Regions from separate parts of the Homo sapiens genome. Here region 1 is linked to region 2. Evidence: promoter capture Hi-C in human tissues and cell types (Jung and others, 2019). All regions are on one chromosome and are shown on one strand. The core of a region is centred on a gene start or on the middle of the fragment in contact, and the rest is flanking DNA. Distances in the headings are between cores, read along the strand shown.

Region 1 (7,532 bases), core at 3,529-6,028, 820 kb before region 2:
AAGAATGAGAACCTGTCATTTGCAACAACATGGATGGAACTGGAGATCATTATATTAAGTGAAATAAGCCAGACACAGAAAGACAAACATCGCATGTTCTCACTTATTCGTGGGATCTAAAAATCAAAACAATTGAATTCATGAACGTATAGAGTAGAAGGATGGTTACCAGAGGCCAGGAAGGGCAGGGGTGTGGTGGGGGGAGGTAGAGATGGTTAATGGGTACAAAAAAACAGAAAGAATGAATAAGATCTACTATTTGACAGCACAATGGGGTAGCTGTAGTCAATAATAACCTAATTGTGCAATAATAACCTAATTGTAAATACTATTTGCAACTGTAAATTGTATTTATTTTAAAATAACTTAAACAGTGTAATTTGATTGTTTGTAACTCAAAGGATAATGGATATTCCATTCCCCACAATGTGCTTATTCCACACCACGTGCCTGTATCAAAACATATCATGTACCCCATAATACATATACCTACTATGTACTCACAAAAAATTAATTTTTAAAAATTCAGCAAATAAACACAGTATTGTTGTAGACATTAAACAATATTGATTTTTTAAACTTGAAAAAACCCCTGTATTCAAAATGCTAGTTCTTATAAAACAAGAAATATCTAGGCCTGAAATTTTAATAAGATAAAGAAATATTGATTTGCCAAGAAGGAAAATTATGCTTTTATCTGAAAAAAAAGTGATTTTTTTAAAAGGTAATAGGACTTTTGTAATCTAGTCCAAGTTCCTTATTTCCAGAAAGTAAAAATAATTTGCTCAAAATGTTGGCTCATGAGCATGAGATACACTGTGAGAGAATTTCTTTTCTGCAACTATTCATGATTGGAGATGTAGGGAAAATCTAAGCATAAAATAATAACTGTGAGAATGAGACTGTTTCTTACATAAACCTCTCCATCCAAGTGGGACCCGCAGACAACTCACAACAGGCAACTTGAAGGGAAGCCCTGGCAGATAAGGAAAGCCATTTGGGTGATGGTTACTGTCAATTGACTGATTTGTATTTGCAGGTCACATGCCTGCAAACCATGTAGCTACCACTAAGGTAACAGTGGTGGTGCCTCCATTATCAGCAAAATTCAAACAACTATTAATTAATAGTTGAATTTTGAATAGTTGTTTGAATTAACAACTAAAAATTTTCAAGTAGTAGCCAGAGGACCTTTCAACTCCTGGAGAGCTTTTTCTTGTGGTCTCTTTATTGAAACAACAAAACATAACAAAATAATTAATCTCTAATTGCCGTCATAAAGTTCTGAGGTATTTCTATAAAGAACTGCACTTCCAAAGTCCATGAAGAAAATCTTTCATTACTTTCTAGACACAGTTACTATACAGATAGGAGAATAGTTTAAAATGGTGCTTTCCAAACTGATATTTCGCAGAATACCAGTTCTGATGGGTATTTAAGAAATCTTTGGAAAGAAGTGTCCTAGACTCAAAATACACATATGAAATGCTGGGTTAAACAATGTAGTATAATTTCAATGCAGGTCTTCTCAGAGACTTTTCTGTGATTAATGTGCTTTGTGTGAAGGGTTTCCTGGTTGATTCAAACAACAGAACATTTTTCTTGTGAGTGCTTCCCCCACAATGTGATTTTTTAACACGCAAACTTTTACAAAATAACACAATATTATTCCCACTAAGCTTTTTTTTATTGTGGTAAAGTATACATGACATAAAATTTACCATTTTAGCCATTTTTAAGTGGACAGGTGAGTGGCATTGAGTACATTCACATTGTTGTGCAACCATCACTATCATCCGTCTCTAGAACTTGTTTCACCTTTCCAAATTTATACTCTGTACCCATTAAATGATAACTTCCAATTCCCTCCTCCCCCTATCCCCTGGCGACCATCATTCTACTTTCTGTCTCTATGAATTTTACCACTCTATAGAGTCATGCAGTATTTGTCCTTTTTTGTGACTGACTTCTTTCACTTAGCGTAAAGCCCTCAAGGTTCATCCATATTGTAGCACGTGTCAGAACTTTCTTCCTTTTTAAGATTGAATAATCTATCATTGGATAGACCATATTCTGTTCAGCCGTGCATCTGTGATGGGCACATTGGTTGCTTCCACTTTTGGGTATTGTGGAAAATGCTGCCATAAGTCACTAAGTTTTATTTACTATAAATTTGACTCTGGCCCTATTCAAGAAGTTTAAAAAACTTAGTCCAAAACTTTCCTTTTACCCACAAAATCCTTTCTGATGAATAAGAATTTTTGGCTCTGACTAAGGCACTTAAAAGCTTTAGACAGCCTGGTATCATGATTTTTTATAGGCACTCTGTCTCACTCTTTCAAGGGAAGCATTTGGCAGCCTCGTAGAACTTTCCAGAGAGCACACATAGCTGTCTGACTATTTCCACTCCTCATGCTCAGCTTTGTCCTCTTCTGTAACAAGAAATCATTTCTACCACAGGACTTCACTCACATGAGTCCGTAGAAGCTCTCATGTGGGCACCAGGCAAGAAGCTACGTGACTTAACCTTAAGAATCTGTTTGTTTTTTTCTAATTGGAAGAAGATATTCTCCTATCAAAAGAAAGGGCCTTTCATCAAGTATTTAAGACCCTAGTATCTTTACTAGGCTGAAATTTTATTGCTCTCCATCAGAATTCTTTTAAGAATTAAAGAACAAAGAGGAGGTACTGTGCTTTCTTTTAAGTCAGAGAAGCACGAATTGACGTGACCTCGTGTACAGTGAGAAGAGTGTGCAGGGATGCTTTTAGAAATTAAAAGGCAACCACATTGGCCAGTCAGACAACATGGGGTGGATGACAAGAGTCTAAGAAATGCCAGAGGAAAAGCTTTTCCTCTGGCTTCTGGAAAGTCAAGTTATTGACAATTTTCAAGTGGATAAGAAGAATATTAAGAAGGTGAAATATCTGTTCTACATGCAAGACACAAGGCTTTACAATACATTATCTTCTACTTAACCCCTTCCTTCTCTGTTAACTGCATTTATTCTGGCCCAAGTTTTTGACTGCATTGATTCTGGCCCAAGTTTTCCAGGCCATCCCAATTGCCCTATCCTTTGAGATTTAAACAAAAGTGGATTAAATGACTCTGTCATGCATATGACAAGCTCTCTCCACCCTTCTTTCACTATGATTGCTAGGAATTCTTAGAGACTTATGTTAATATTTCTCCTGGTCATCACTTGGTTCAACTTTCTCCTGTCACAGAATTCTTGTTCTCTGCTGTATCTTCCCTCTTGCAGCTCTTTTCTTCTCTACCTTACATAAACCCAAACCTGGAGCACTCAGTCCCTTTTTGAAAACATTTTCCCAAGCATCATTCATACATGGAGATATGAAGAGTAGGGATGTAGTGAAGATCTTGGAATACTAGCAGAGAAGTCACAGTCCTGAGAAACTCCCCAAGATTGAATATAGAACTTCTCATCTGCCTTCTCTTCTCTGTTTTGTGCATCTTGCTAGGACCTCTTCCCAACACACCCTCTATTTTTTCCTTAGGTTATTCCTTGTGTCTTTGGTGAGGGGAGGAAGATGGAAGGAATCATGAGGCAGGGTGGGGTTGGAGAGGTGCTGTCCTCACCTCGTCTGCTTCGAAGTTGCCCTTGAACACTCAAAATTTTGCTTTCGTTATTTGTGAAGAATGATTTAGTCTTCTTTGACTGATGCCAACCAATCTAGGAAATTCTCCGAGGGCTACTCTTTCATGTCAGAAAATAGCACAGCCGGATGCTTTGTTAAATACAGCCTCTTCTTAAAGACGTAGAGTTTATTTCTTGTTTATCAATATTAAGCCTAGTCTTCCTGACTAGAGCTCACCTTAGCTCAGCTGTTGCACACTTTTCTGAAGATAATGAGTGTTAAACAGAAATTAGGCCAAAGTTCTGTTTGAGGAGAAAACTCTTCAGATTGAGTCTCTTGTTGGCAGATTACTTAGGAAGGCGTAATCAGTGTTCACATTGCAATTTACCCCCTTGCCTGCCTGCACCTCCATGTTTAGGATCAGAAGGGAAAATGATCTGCTTTGAAAGCACAGAAAAAGAGGAGCCCAGAGACACCATTTTGGAAAATGCATTCAAGCACTGTCCAGGGGAGAGGGTGCCCAGGACCCTTGGTTAATCTGGTCCAGGGGGCAAGTCCTTCCCTGTGGTGGCTCTTCTTTTGCTTCCGTTGCCTACTGATATGGTTTGGCTGTGTCCCCACCCAAATCTCAATTTGAATTGTATCTCTCAGAATTCCCATGTGTGGTGGGAGGGACCCAGGGAGAGGTAATTGAATCATGGGGGCAGGTCTTTCCCATGCTACTTTCATAATAGTGAATAAGTCTCATGAGATCTGATGGGTTTATCAGAGGTTTCTGCTTTTGCTTCCTCCTCATTTTCTCTTGCTCCCACCATGTTAGAAGTGCCTTTCACCTCCTGCCATGATTTTGAGGCCTTCCCAGCCATGTGGAACTGTAAGTCCAATTAAACCTCTTTTTCTTCCCAGTCTCAGGTATGTCTTTATTAGCATCATGAAAACAGACTAATACACCTACTCAATGAGAATCCTTTGAAAAATTGAGTTCTCATGTGTCTCGATCACAAATCAGCAAAAGTGCTGGTCAGGCCAATATGCTTCTAGTCTTCCTCATAACACATTCCTCATTGTAAATAATTAAAACAGCATTTGGGTTTTATAAATCTTCTTCTTGATAGCTCTGTTAGCATTACTGAGCATCTAACCCCTATCATCTCTAGTATATTGGGTCCTAAGATCGCAAGCCAAGGGCCTTTACTGGAACTCAGTGTATTCACCAAGGTAAATGTCACTTGGCAATGTGAGGCTTCTTCATGATGGGTCAATTGGCCTTTCCCAGGCAACAACTCTTATGTCTTTTTATGGGTTCCATTCTTCGGTTCAGAAAGTAGAAACTACTTTGAGAATTTTAAGCAGGAAGGGACTTAATTCAGAGAATTAGATATTTTCAAAATCATTGTAGGGGCTTAAGGATCAGGTTCTAGACTGGTCCTCCTGGAATAATCCCCAGGAGTATAGAACTCATCCATCATGGAAACGACTCCTTTGAGACTGTCACTGTAGCTATAGATACAAAAAGTCACTGCCTTGCTTGCTGCCTCTCATGCCTAGGAAATTGGACAGTGGACACCCCAGGCTGTAATTAAGATTAGAAGTCACAGAGGAGGTAGCATGGGGCAGGATGTCAAAGTAGAAGGCGCCATCAATCATGCTCCCAGAAGGACACCAATTTAACAACTATCTACACACCAAAGAAGTACGTTCATGAGAATCAAAACACAGGTGAGCACTCATAGTATCTGGTTTTAACTTTGCATCACTGAAAGAGGTATCGAAGAGGTAGGAAAAGCAGTACTGAATCACCAATGCCACCCCTTCCCCATATCCAGCAGTGACAGCATGATGCAGAGAGCGATTCTATGTTGGGAAGAAGGAGAGTGCAGCATTTGTGAGACATTGAACTCAGTTCTGCCCTGTTATAGCAGAAAGCAAAATTGGACCAAACTCAGCTGACACCCACCCATGGAGTGAACATTCCTAGCCAGAGAGGAATCACCAATCTCAGTGGTCAGAACTTGAGTTCCCACAAGCCTTTCCATCATGATCTAAAGTGCTCTGGGGCCCTAAATTAACTTGGATGGCAATCTAGGCCACAAAGTCTGAACCTTCTAGGTGAGTCCTAGTGCTGAACTAGGTCCAGTGCCTGTGTACTGGGTAGGGGAGGAGTGGGAACATGACCTACTGAGACATCAGCTAGAGTGGCTAAGGGAGTGGCATCACCCCTTTCCTAACCCCAGGCTGCACAGCTCATGGCTCCAAAAGAGCTCCCTTCCTTCTGCTTGAGGAGAGGAGAGGTAAGAGTGGGGAGGTCTTTGTTTTGCACATTGGATACCAGCTCAGCCACAGCAGGATTACGGCATTGGTCAGAGGCATGAGACACCCTTTCCAGGTCCTAGCTCTCAGATGATATTTCTACACATACCCTACACCAGAAAGGGACCTACTGCCTTGAAGAGAAGGACCTACTTCTGGCAGGATTCATCACCTGCTAACTGAAGAAGCCTTGGGCCCTGAATAACCACCAGCAATACCCAGGTAGTACATCGTGGGCCTTGGGTGAGACTCTGAGACTAGCTGGATTCAGGTGAGACTCAGCACATTCTGAGCTGTAGTGGCCATGGGGCGAGACTCCTTCTGCTTGAGAAAAGTGGAGGGAAAAATAAAGGGAGCTCTGTCTTTCACCTCAGGTACCAGCTAGGCCATAGGTGCGTAGAGCACCAAGCAGGCTCTTGGAGCCCCCAATTCCAGGACCTAGGACTTGGATGGCATTTCTGGATCTGCTCTGGGGCAGAGTGGAACCCACTGCCCTGAACAGTGAGTCCCAGGCGAGGCATCATTCACCACAAGCTGACTGAAGAGCCATAGGGTCTTTAAGGAACATAGGTGGTAGTCTGGTAGCACTCTCAGTGTGTCTGTGTTGGTGGTGGCCATGGGATGAGGCTCCTCTGCCTTTGGAAAGGGGAGGGAAGAGTGGGAAGAACTATATGTTGTGGTTTGGGGGACAGCTCAATCAGAGTACAACAGAACACTAGATAGACTTCTAAAGTTGTTGACCTGGCTTCCAGATGGCACCTCTGGACTTGCCTGAGGCCTGGGGTAACATGTCATCCTGGAGGGAAGGACACAGGCCTGGATGGCTTTGCCACCTGCTGATCACAGAGCCCTAAGGCATTGAGCAAGCATAGGCAGTAATGAGGTAATGATTACAATAGGCCTTGGGTGAGACCTAATGCTGTATTGGCTTGAGGTCAGAACCAGCACTGTCCTAGTGGTGGTGGCCATAGGGGTGCTTATGTCACCCTGCACCCAGCTTCGGGGTGGGGGGGGGAGAGAGAGAGAGAGAGAGAGAGAGAGAGAGAGACAAAGGAAAGAAAGAAAGAAAAGAAAGAGAGAGAGAGAGAAGAAAGAAAGAAAAGAAAGAAAGAAAGAAAGAAAAAAGAAAGAAAGAAAGAAAAAAGAAAGAAAGAAAGAGAAAGAAAAAAGAAAGAAAGAAAAAGAAAGACTCCATTTGTTTGGGAGAAAGTAAAGGAAGAAAACAAGAGTCTATGTCTGGTAATCCAGGGAATACTTCTGGATCTTTTACAAGACCATCAAGGTAGTACCTCTATGAGTCTGCAAGAACCACAGCATTACTGGGCTTGGGATGTCTCCTAAAGCAGATATAGCTCAGATCACAACACACAAGTCTTTTTGAATATCTGGAAAGCCTTCCCAAGAAGAATGGGTACAAACAAGCCCAGACAGCAAAGACTGCAATGAATACCCAGTAATTCTTCAATACCCAGACACAGATGAACATCTACAAGTCTCAAGACCTTGCAGGAAAACATGATCTCACCAAATGAACTAAATAAGGCACCAGGGACAATCTTGGAGAAACAGAGATAAGTTATCTTTCAGATAGAGAGTTCTAGATAATTGTTTTCAGGAAACTCAAA
Region 2 (7,472 bases), core at 1,809-4,308:
ATCCTAGCACTTTGGGAGGCTGAGGCAGGTGGATCACGAGGTCAAGAGATCGAGACCATCCTGGCCAACATGGTGAAACCCCGTCTCTACTAAAAATACAAGAATTAGCCAGGCGTGGTGGCAGGCGCCTGTACTCCCAGCTACTCGGGAGGCTGAGGCAGGAGAATCACTTGAACCAGGGAGGCGGAGGTTGCAGTGAGCCGAGATTGCGCCACTGCACTCCAGCCTGGTGACAGAGCGAGACTCTGGGTCAAAAAAAAGAAAAAAAGAAAGAAAGAAAAGAAAAGAAATTGGGGCAGCTCAGGAGCTTAAGCAAGGGCACATTTTGGTGTCAGGATTGCGTTCAAACTACAGCTCTACCACTGACACACTAAGAGTCCTCAATCAAGGGGTAATGACTGGCACACAGGAAGGACTCAGTGAATGGCGGCAACTGTAGATTCTTCTCTCCCTTTCTACTTCCCCAAAAAGGGGTGGGTTTGGGAAGAATCACACCATCCCTGACTGGGTCAAAGTTTAAGTCAGAGTAGAAAAAGAGGAAGAAGATAGAGGAAGGAGCTAAGATGTATAAAGTTTTTAATTGCTCTCAAGAACAAAATCAATCCATATACTGAAGATCATGTAATTTTTCTCAGTTACCCACTGGCATAAAGAATAGGGCTGTGGACCAGGCGTGGTGGTTCACGCTTGTAATCCCAGTGCTTGGGGAGACTGAGGAGGGTGGATCACCTGAAGTCAGGAGTTTGAGACCAGCCTGGCCAACATGGTGAAACCCCATCTCTGCTAAAAGTACAAGAAATTAGCCAGGCGTGGAGGTGCACACCTGTAATCCCAGCTACTTGGGAAGCTGGGACAGGAGAGTTTCTTGAACCCAGGAGGTGGAGGTTTCAGTGAGCCAAGATAGCACCATTGCACTCCAGCCTGGGTGACAGAGAGAGACTCTGTCTCAGACAAAAAAAAAAAAGAATAGGACTGAGACCAGTGTACTCTCTTGGAATGTAGCTATGGCCCTGCAACCCCTCCCCGCAAGCTGTCCAGTGAATAACTGAATTGGGTGGAAGAAGTCCTTCCCCCACATTTGTACATTGGAAAATAATATAATAATATATATTATATATATATAGGCAATCTGCCTGCCTCGGCCTCCCAAAGTGCTGGGATTACAGGCATAAGCCACCATGCCCAGCTGGAAAATAATATTTAGTACTAATTCTAAAATTGGCATTTTCTTAAAAAAGGTTACATGAGCTCCTCAGAGAACTGAAGTTTCTCTGGACCCATATAACCCACGTCTATGGGGTCATTCCCACACCTCACAGATAAAATAAGGGAAAGAGTACATATAATTAGGAGCAGACAGGAAGCACACAGAAATGGAAAATGTGTGTGGGCTTTGGCATTGCAGATCTGAATTCAAATCCTCACTCTGCACCTTATGAGGTAAGTATCCCTAGACATGTTACTTAGCCTTTCCGAATCTTGCTTTCCAAATCATGCATAATATTCACCTCCCTGGACTATTGTGAAGATTAAACATGAAAGTAGTTGTGACAAAGATGGTCAGTGGGTATTATCTGTCTTCCTTTCTAGTAAAAAGGCTCTAGACTAGAATGTTCTTAGGTCTTTAATAGGCTTCAGCAATCTCACATGTTAATATTAGTGTTATGTGCTGAACTGGGCTTCCCCCAAATCCATATGTTGAAGCCCTGAACCTCAGAATGTGACTGTATTTGCAGACAGAGCCTTTAAAGAGGTCATTAAGCTCAAATGAGGCTGTTATGAGAAGAGGAAATCGGGACACACAAAGGGAGATACCAGGAATGTGCATACAGAGAGAAAAGGCCAAGGAGGGAGGCGTGGGGAGAAGCCAACCCTGCTGACACCTTGGTCTTGGACTTGCAGCCTCCAGAACTGTGGGAATATAAATTTCTGTTGTTTAAGCCACCCAGTCTATGGTATTTTAAACACATTAATACGACTAATATTATAAAAGTGTGTGAACAGTTAAGAAGTGTGCTGACCAGGTTCTATCCTAGTTTTGTAGACAATTAGCAGTGTGATGTAGGGCAGGACATTTAACTCCTCTCTACCACATTTTCCACCTCTCAAAGCCAGGCTGCAAGGATCTACTGAGATAATGTACATAAAGACCCTATCACGAAATAGGTGTCCCGTAAAGGGTGATTTCCTTCACTTCTGTCTCCAAATATCAGGTTTCTCATCAGTAACTTGGGAGATTGGATGGACTAAGTAGTCCACCTCGTTCCTTTCAGCTTTGATCATCTGTGATTCTAACAACAGTCTTAGCAACAAGAGTGAGTTTCCTGGCCGGGCACGTTGGCTCACACCTGTAATCCCAGCACTTTGGGAGGCTGAGGTGGGCAGATCACGAGGTCAGGAGTTGAGACCAGTCTGGCCAACATGGTGAAACCCTGTCTCTACTAAAAATACAAAAATTAGCTGGGGCGCGGTGCCGGGTGCCTGTAATCCCAGCTACTTGGGAGGCTGAGGCAGGAGAATTGCTTGAACCCAGGAGGCAGAGGTTGCAGTGAGCCGAGATCACGCCACTGCAGTCCAGCCTGGGTGACAGAGCAAGACTCTGTCTCAAAAAAAAAAAAAAAAAAAGAGTGAGTTTCCTTTCTGTAATGCCAAAAAGTGTTTCCAAAGTCCTTTCCATCTCACAGTAGTCCAAGGGGTACATGTACCCCTTGAACCTGATGAAGCCCCAGCAGACCCGATTAACCACCCCTAAAGGTTTCTCGGCAGGCAAATCCAGCCAGGCATGCAAATCACACTCGTCAATGTTAAGGCTTTTGTACATCCCAGACACAAGCTTTAAATGAATGTAAACCCAGATTTTAATATTTGGGCCCCAGACCTTAAAAATCCCATTCTCTCTACCCACAGTACCTGGCTGAGCAATCCAATTGCCCTCTTCTTGGGAGACCAAGACATGTTTTTAAAATAAAGTTTCTTTGTATTTGCTTTCCGTTTCAGTGAGGCCTCGAGTTCTTGTAGACCAGATACCTTCTTGTTCTGTGAGAGGACAGTGTACAGAGAGGGGAACTGCTGAGCAGTTCCTTTTTTTTTTTTCAAAGCACAGTAAGAGTGGTTTGGACACAAGTACTACCAGTTCAGAAAGGGAAGATGGGTGTAGGCAGGAGTAGCCGGGGAAGAAGTAGAACTTCAGAGTAAAAGATGCAAGAGCTAGAAATTCCGTCAAGAAAGGAATTACTCATTTGTTTCCTGTTTGTTCACAACATATGAATTCATTGCTGTTGAGTTACTTATTCTATACCTTAAAATGAAACAAAGTCTTCTGAACATCCAACATATATTTTTTTTCTTTTTCTTTCTTTTTTCTTTTTTTTGAGACAGAGTCTTGTTCTGTCACCCAAGCTGGAGGGCAGTGGCACAATCTCAGCTCACTGCAACCTCTGCCTCCCGGGTTCAAGCGTTCCTCCCGCCTCAGTCCTCCCAGTAGCTAAGACTACAGGCGTGCACCACCATGCCCGGCTAATTTTTGTATTTTTAGTAGAGACAGAATTTCACCATGTTGGCCAGGCTGGTCTCGAACTCCTGACCTCAGGCAATCTGCCAGCCTCAGCCTCCCAAAGTGCTGGGATTACAGGCGTGAGCCACCATGCCCAGCCACAACATGTATTTTTAATGCTTAACCATGGGAGATAGAGCGGTAAATGAAATGAGCCAGCTTAGTTGGCTAAAGCACATTGCTACTGCATTCAAGGTCATGCTTACCCCTGTACCTTGAATCCCAGAGGACTTCCAGCAGATGTGTTCTCTCAGTCAGCAGGGTTCTGGGCAAGGTCACACAGGGCAAACAGATCACCAGTTTTGGTCCACTCCACCGATGACGCACGGGGACACCCTCCGGAGTATAAACAGCCAGGGGCTTGCACAGGCACACTCACATTGGACGTTTGTGTTCACAGACTCCAGGAGGCCAGCTTATACTCAGCTGAGGACTGAAGAAATCTCTCTGCACTTCCCTTGAGGATGACATTCTTGCATACTCTTTCCTCTGTCTTTGCATAAACTACCAGGAACATGTCTTTGTGTTACATAACTTCTTATTTCAAAAAGAGCATTCTGACAGTAGCCTATCTGCCATAGAGGGATACCAAAGTTTCCCGGCAAATAAATGTCTACATCCTGGGTTTTCTAAGGGGGCATCAGTGTCAGTGTTTCCCAACTTGTGAGGTGGGTTTCTCTGAAGTGAGATTGAGGGCTACACTATCAGCTAGATTTTTAAATTGTAATGAAACCTATATATAAACATATGTTCAAGAGAAAAAACTGCAAAGACAGCCACCAAAATAGTAATGATGCTTATTGCTGGGGAATACAATTATAAGCAATTTTAAATTTCTGTCTTTGGCTTATCTGTATATTCTAATTTTATTTATCAACTTATTTATTTTTTATTTTATTTGTTTATTTATTTATTTATTTATTTATTTGAGACAGAGTCTCGTTCTGTTGCCCAGGCTGGAGTGGAGTGCAGTGGCTCAATCTTGGCTCACTGCAACCTCTGCCTCCCAGGCTCAAGCAATTCTTGTGCCTCAGCCTCTCAAGTAGCTGGGATTTCAGGTGTGGGCCACCACCATGGCTAATTTTTTGTATTTTTAGTAGAGACAGGGTTTTGCTATGTTGGCCAAGCTGGTCTTGAGCTCTTGGTCTCCAGTGATCCACCTGTGTTGTCCTCCTAAAGTAATGGGATTACAGGCGGGAGCCACCATGCCCAACCTGTATATTCTAATTCTTCATAGCAAACACCTATTACTTTTGTACTAATAAATGATGTAATATAGAATAAAAAGGGAAAATGTAGAAATATGGTTGTAGTAGGCTGAATAGTGGCTACCCAAATATCCCAAATCCTAATCCCTGGGAACTGTAAATATTGTGTCTTTCCAGATATGTTCCATTTAAGGCTCTGAAGATGGGGAGAGAATTCTGGATGATCCAGGTGGGCCCTTAATAATGGTCCCTTATTACAGAGAGCCAGAGGGAGATTTGAAACTGACAGGAGAAGTCAGTAAGACCATGAATGCAGAGATTCGAGTAATACGGCTACGAGCCAAAAGATGCCAGCAGCCACCTGCAGCTGGAAGAGGCATAAATGGATTCTCCCCTAAAGCTCCCAGGAGTGTGGCCCTGCTGACACCCTGATTTCAGCCCCATGATACTGATGTTGGACTGGTCCTCAGAACTGTGAAAGAATAAATTTCTGTTGTTTTAAACCACCCAGTTTATGATATTTTGTTACAGCAACCACAGTAGACTAATACAGTAGTATTTCATAGTAAAATAAGCAAAATTATATCCATATTCATTCAAGTACATCTTCTGGGCTGCCTCACCAGTTTCCTTTGTGAGTGGATTTGCAGTCAGGTGTTTTCAGGGCATTTCAAATAGGTAATTAACTAGTAACTTCGGCATCCTACGTTCCAACAGTTACGTCCCCTGCCCTTATGTTCTTCCTCCCAGTCTCTCCCAACGCTTATTATCCTAGGAGTGTGGTAAAGTGGAAATGCCCAGAGCTCTGGAGCCAAGTAGACCTGAGTTCAAGTCTGGGTTCCTTCCTGTGACTAATACAAGTCACCTTAGCTTCTTAGCAGTGCAATGATGGTTCCCCAAGTTGCCCCAGGGTTGTTGTGAATATCAGCTGAGATGCCATCTGTGAAGTACCACATGGCACTAACTATTCTGTGACTTTAAGCATATGTAGCTACTCATGCTTTTAACTCCCAGTTTAATGCGGAGGGAAGGAAAAAGTCACGATACTTTTCTTCCTAGAGGCCTGTAACTCATAACTCCAAAAATAATTATTCTGGAATTCTGTTAGTCTTCTGCTTACATATTTAGTGGCAGGGAAGTCACTGGGCCAAATCAGGCAGGCAGCTTCCTAATATGCCTTAATAAAGAGGGGTCAATTTTTTTTTTTTTTTTTTTTTGAGACGGATTCTCACTTTGTCACCCAGGCTGGAGAGCAGTGGCTGCAATCTCAGCTCACTGCAACCTCCACCTCCTGGGTTCAAGCGATTCTCCTGCCTCAGTCTCCCAAGTAGCTGGGATTACAGGTGCGCACCACTATGCACGGGCTTTTTTTTTTTTTTTTTTTGACACAGTTTCACTCTTGTCGCCCAGGCTGGAGTGCAATGGCGTGATCTTGGCTCACTGCAGCCGCTGCCTCCCGGGTTCACGCCATTCTCCTGCTTCAGCCTCCCGAGCAGCTGTGCTTACAGATGTTTGACACCACGCCCGGCTAATTTTTGTATTTTTGTCGAGATGGGATATCACCATGTTGGCCAGGCTGGTCTCGAACTCTTGACCTCAGGTGATCTGCCCACCTCAGCCTCCCAAAGTGCTGGGATTACAGGTGTAAGCCACAGTGCCTGGCCAGGAGGGTTAAATCTTCTTGACTACCTCCTTTAGGAAATAGAAGTACATTGTGCCTATTATCCTCTGCCATATCTATATTTATATTATGTATATTATTATAATTTATATATAACAAGTATATATTATACATGATATTACATATACATATATAAATATATCATTTATAAATATAAGTTACATATATTTACATATATTATATAAATACATTTATATACAATATTATATAAATACATATATTTATATGTAAGTATATAAATACAAATATTTATAAGTATACAAATATATATAATTCCCCATCCTCACCCCTTAAAATTGGACTAATAATTCAGATACTCTATGTAAAAGAGGCTTTGGTAGAATAAACTAAATGCTGGAGGACAGATTGACTCTCAAGGAGTCTGAAATCCTGTTCTAAAATTAACATTTGAAACAACTAGAGATATTTGGCAAGAAGCAGAAAGAATTTCAAATAGGTTTGATAACTGTGTTATTTGCGGAGGCATGGCATAGGGAAGAGGGAACATGTTTCAGATGCCTATGACAAATGAAAATCATGTACAAGGAGTCAGTTAATGATAAAGTTACTTCTTTAGGGGAATTAGTCATGCTTTTTTTTTTTGAGACAGAGTCTAACTCTGTCACCCAGGCTGGAGTGCAGTGGCATGATCTCAGTTCACTGCAATCTCCATCTCCCAGGTTCAAGCGATTCTCCTGCCTCAGCCTCCCGAGTAGCTGGGATTACAGGCATGTGCCACCATGCCTGACTAATTTTTGTAATTTTTAGTAGAGACAGGTTTTTGCCTTGTTGGCCAGGCTGGTCTCAAACTCCTCGTGTAAAGCAATCTGCCCGCTTCAGCCTCCCAAAGTGCTGGGATTACAGGCATGAGCCACCACGCTCAGTCTCGTCATACTTTTTGCACTCCTTGCATTTGTATTCCAGTATTTGGGCAGTTTCCCAGATTATGATACTAACATCCCCAAGGTAGCAGTCATTTACCAGGTTGCTAAGATATGGCTACCTCCTCCTCTTGTTCCAAGTCGGCAGT

Evidence for each region. Contacts are between HindIII fragments. The study calls those that stand out against the background at their distance.
Region 1: a fragment that was not itself captured here is called in contact with the fragment with the promoter of NLRC4 in region 2 in 2 of the 25 tissues and cell types used here (liver and mesendoderm cells).

What each region holds. Positions count from the first base shown.
Region 1 is chr2:31,444,719-31,452,250 of GRCh38, forward strand. No RefSeq gene overlaps it. Among named protein-coding and RNA genes, the nearest start is that of XDH, 34 kb to the left of the region's middle. The HindIII fragment of the contact is 5,591 bases long and covers 1,984-7,532 here.
Region 2 is chr2:32,261,828-32,269,299 of GRCh38, forward strand. NLRC4 (NLR family CARD domain containing 4) reads right to left here and starts at 3,059. Exons shown (of 9, transcript NM_001199138.2): 1 at 2,911-3,059. The HindIII fragment of the contact is 13,663 bases long and covers 813-7,472 here.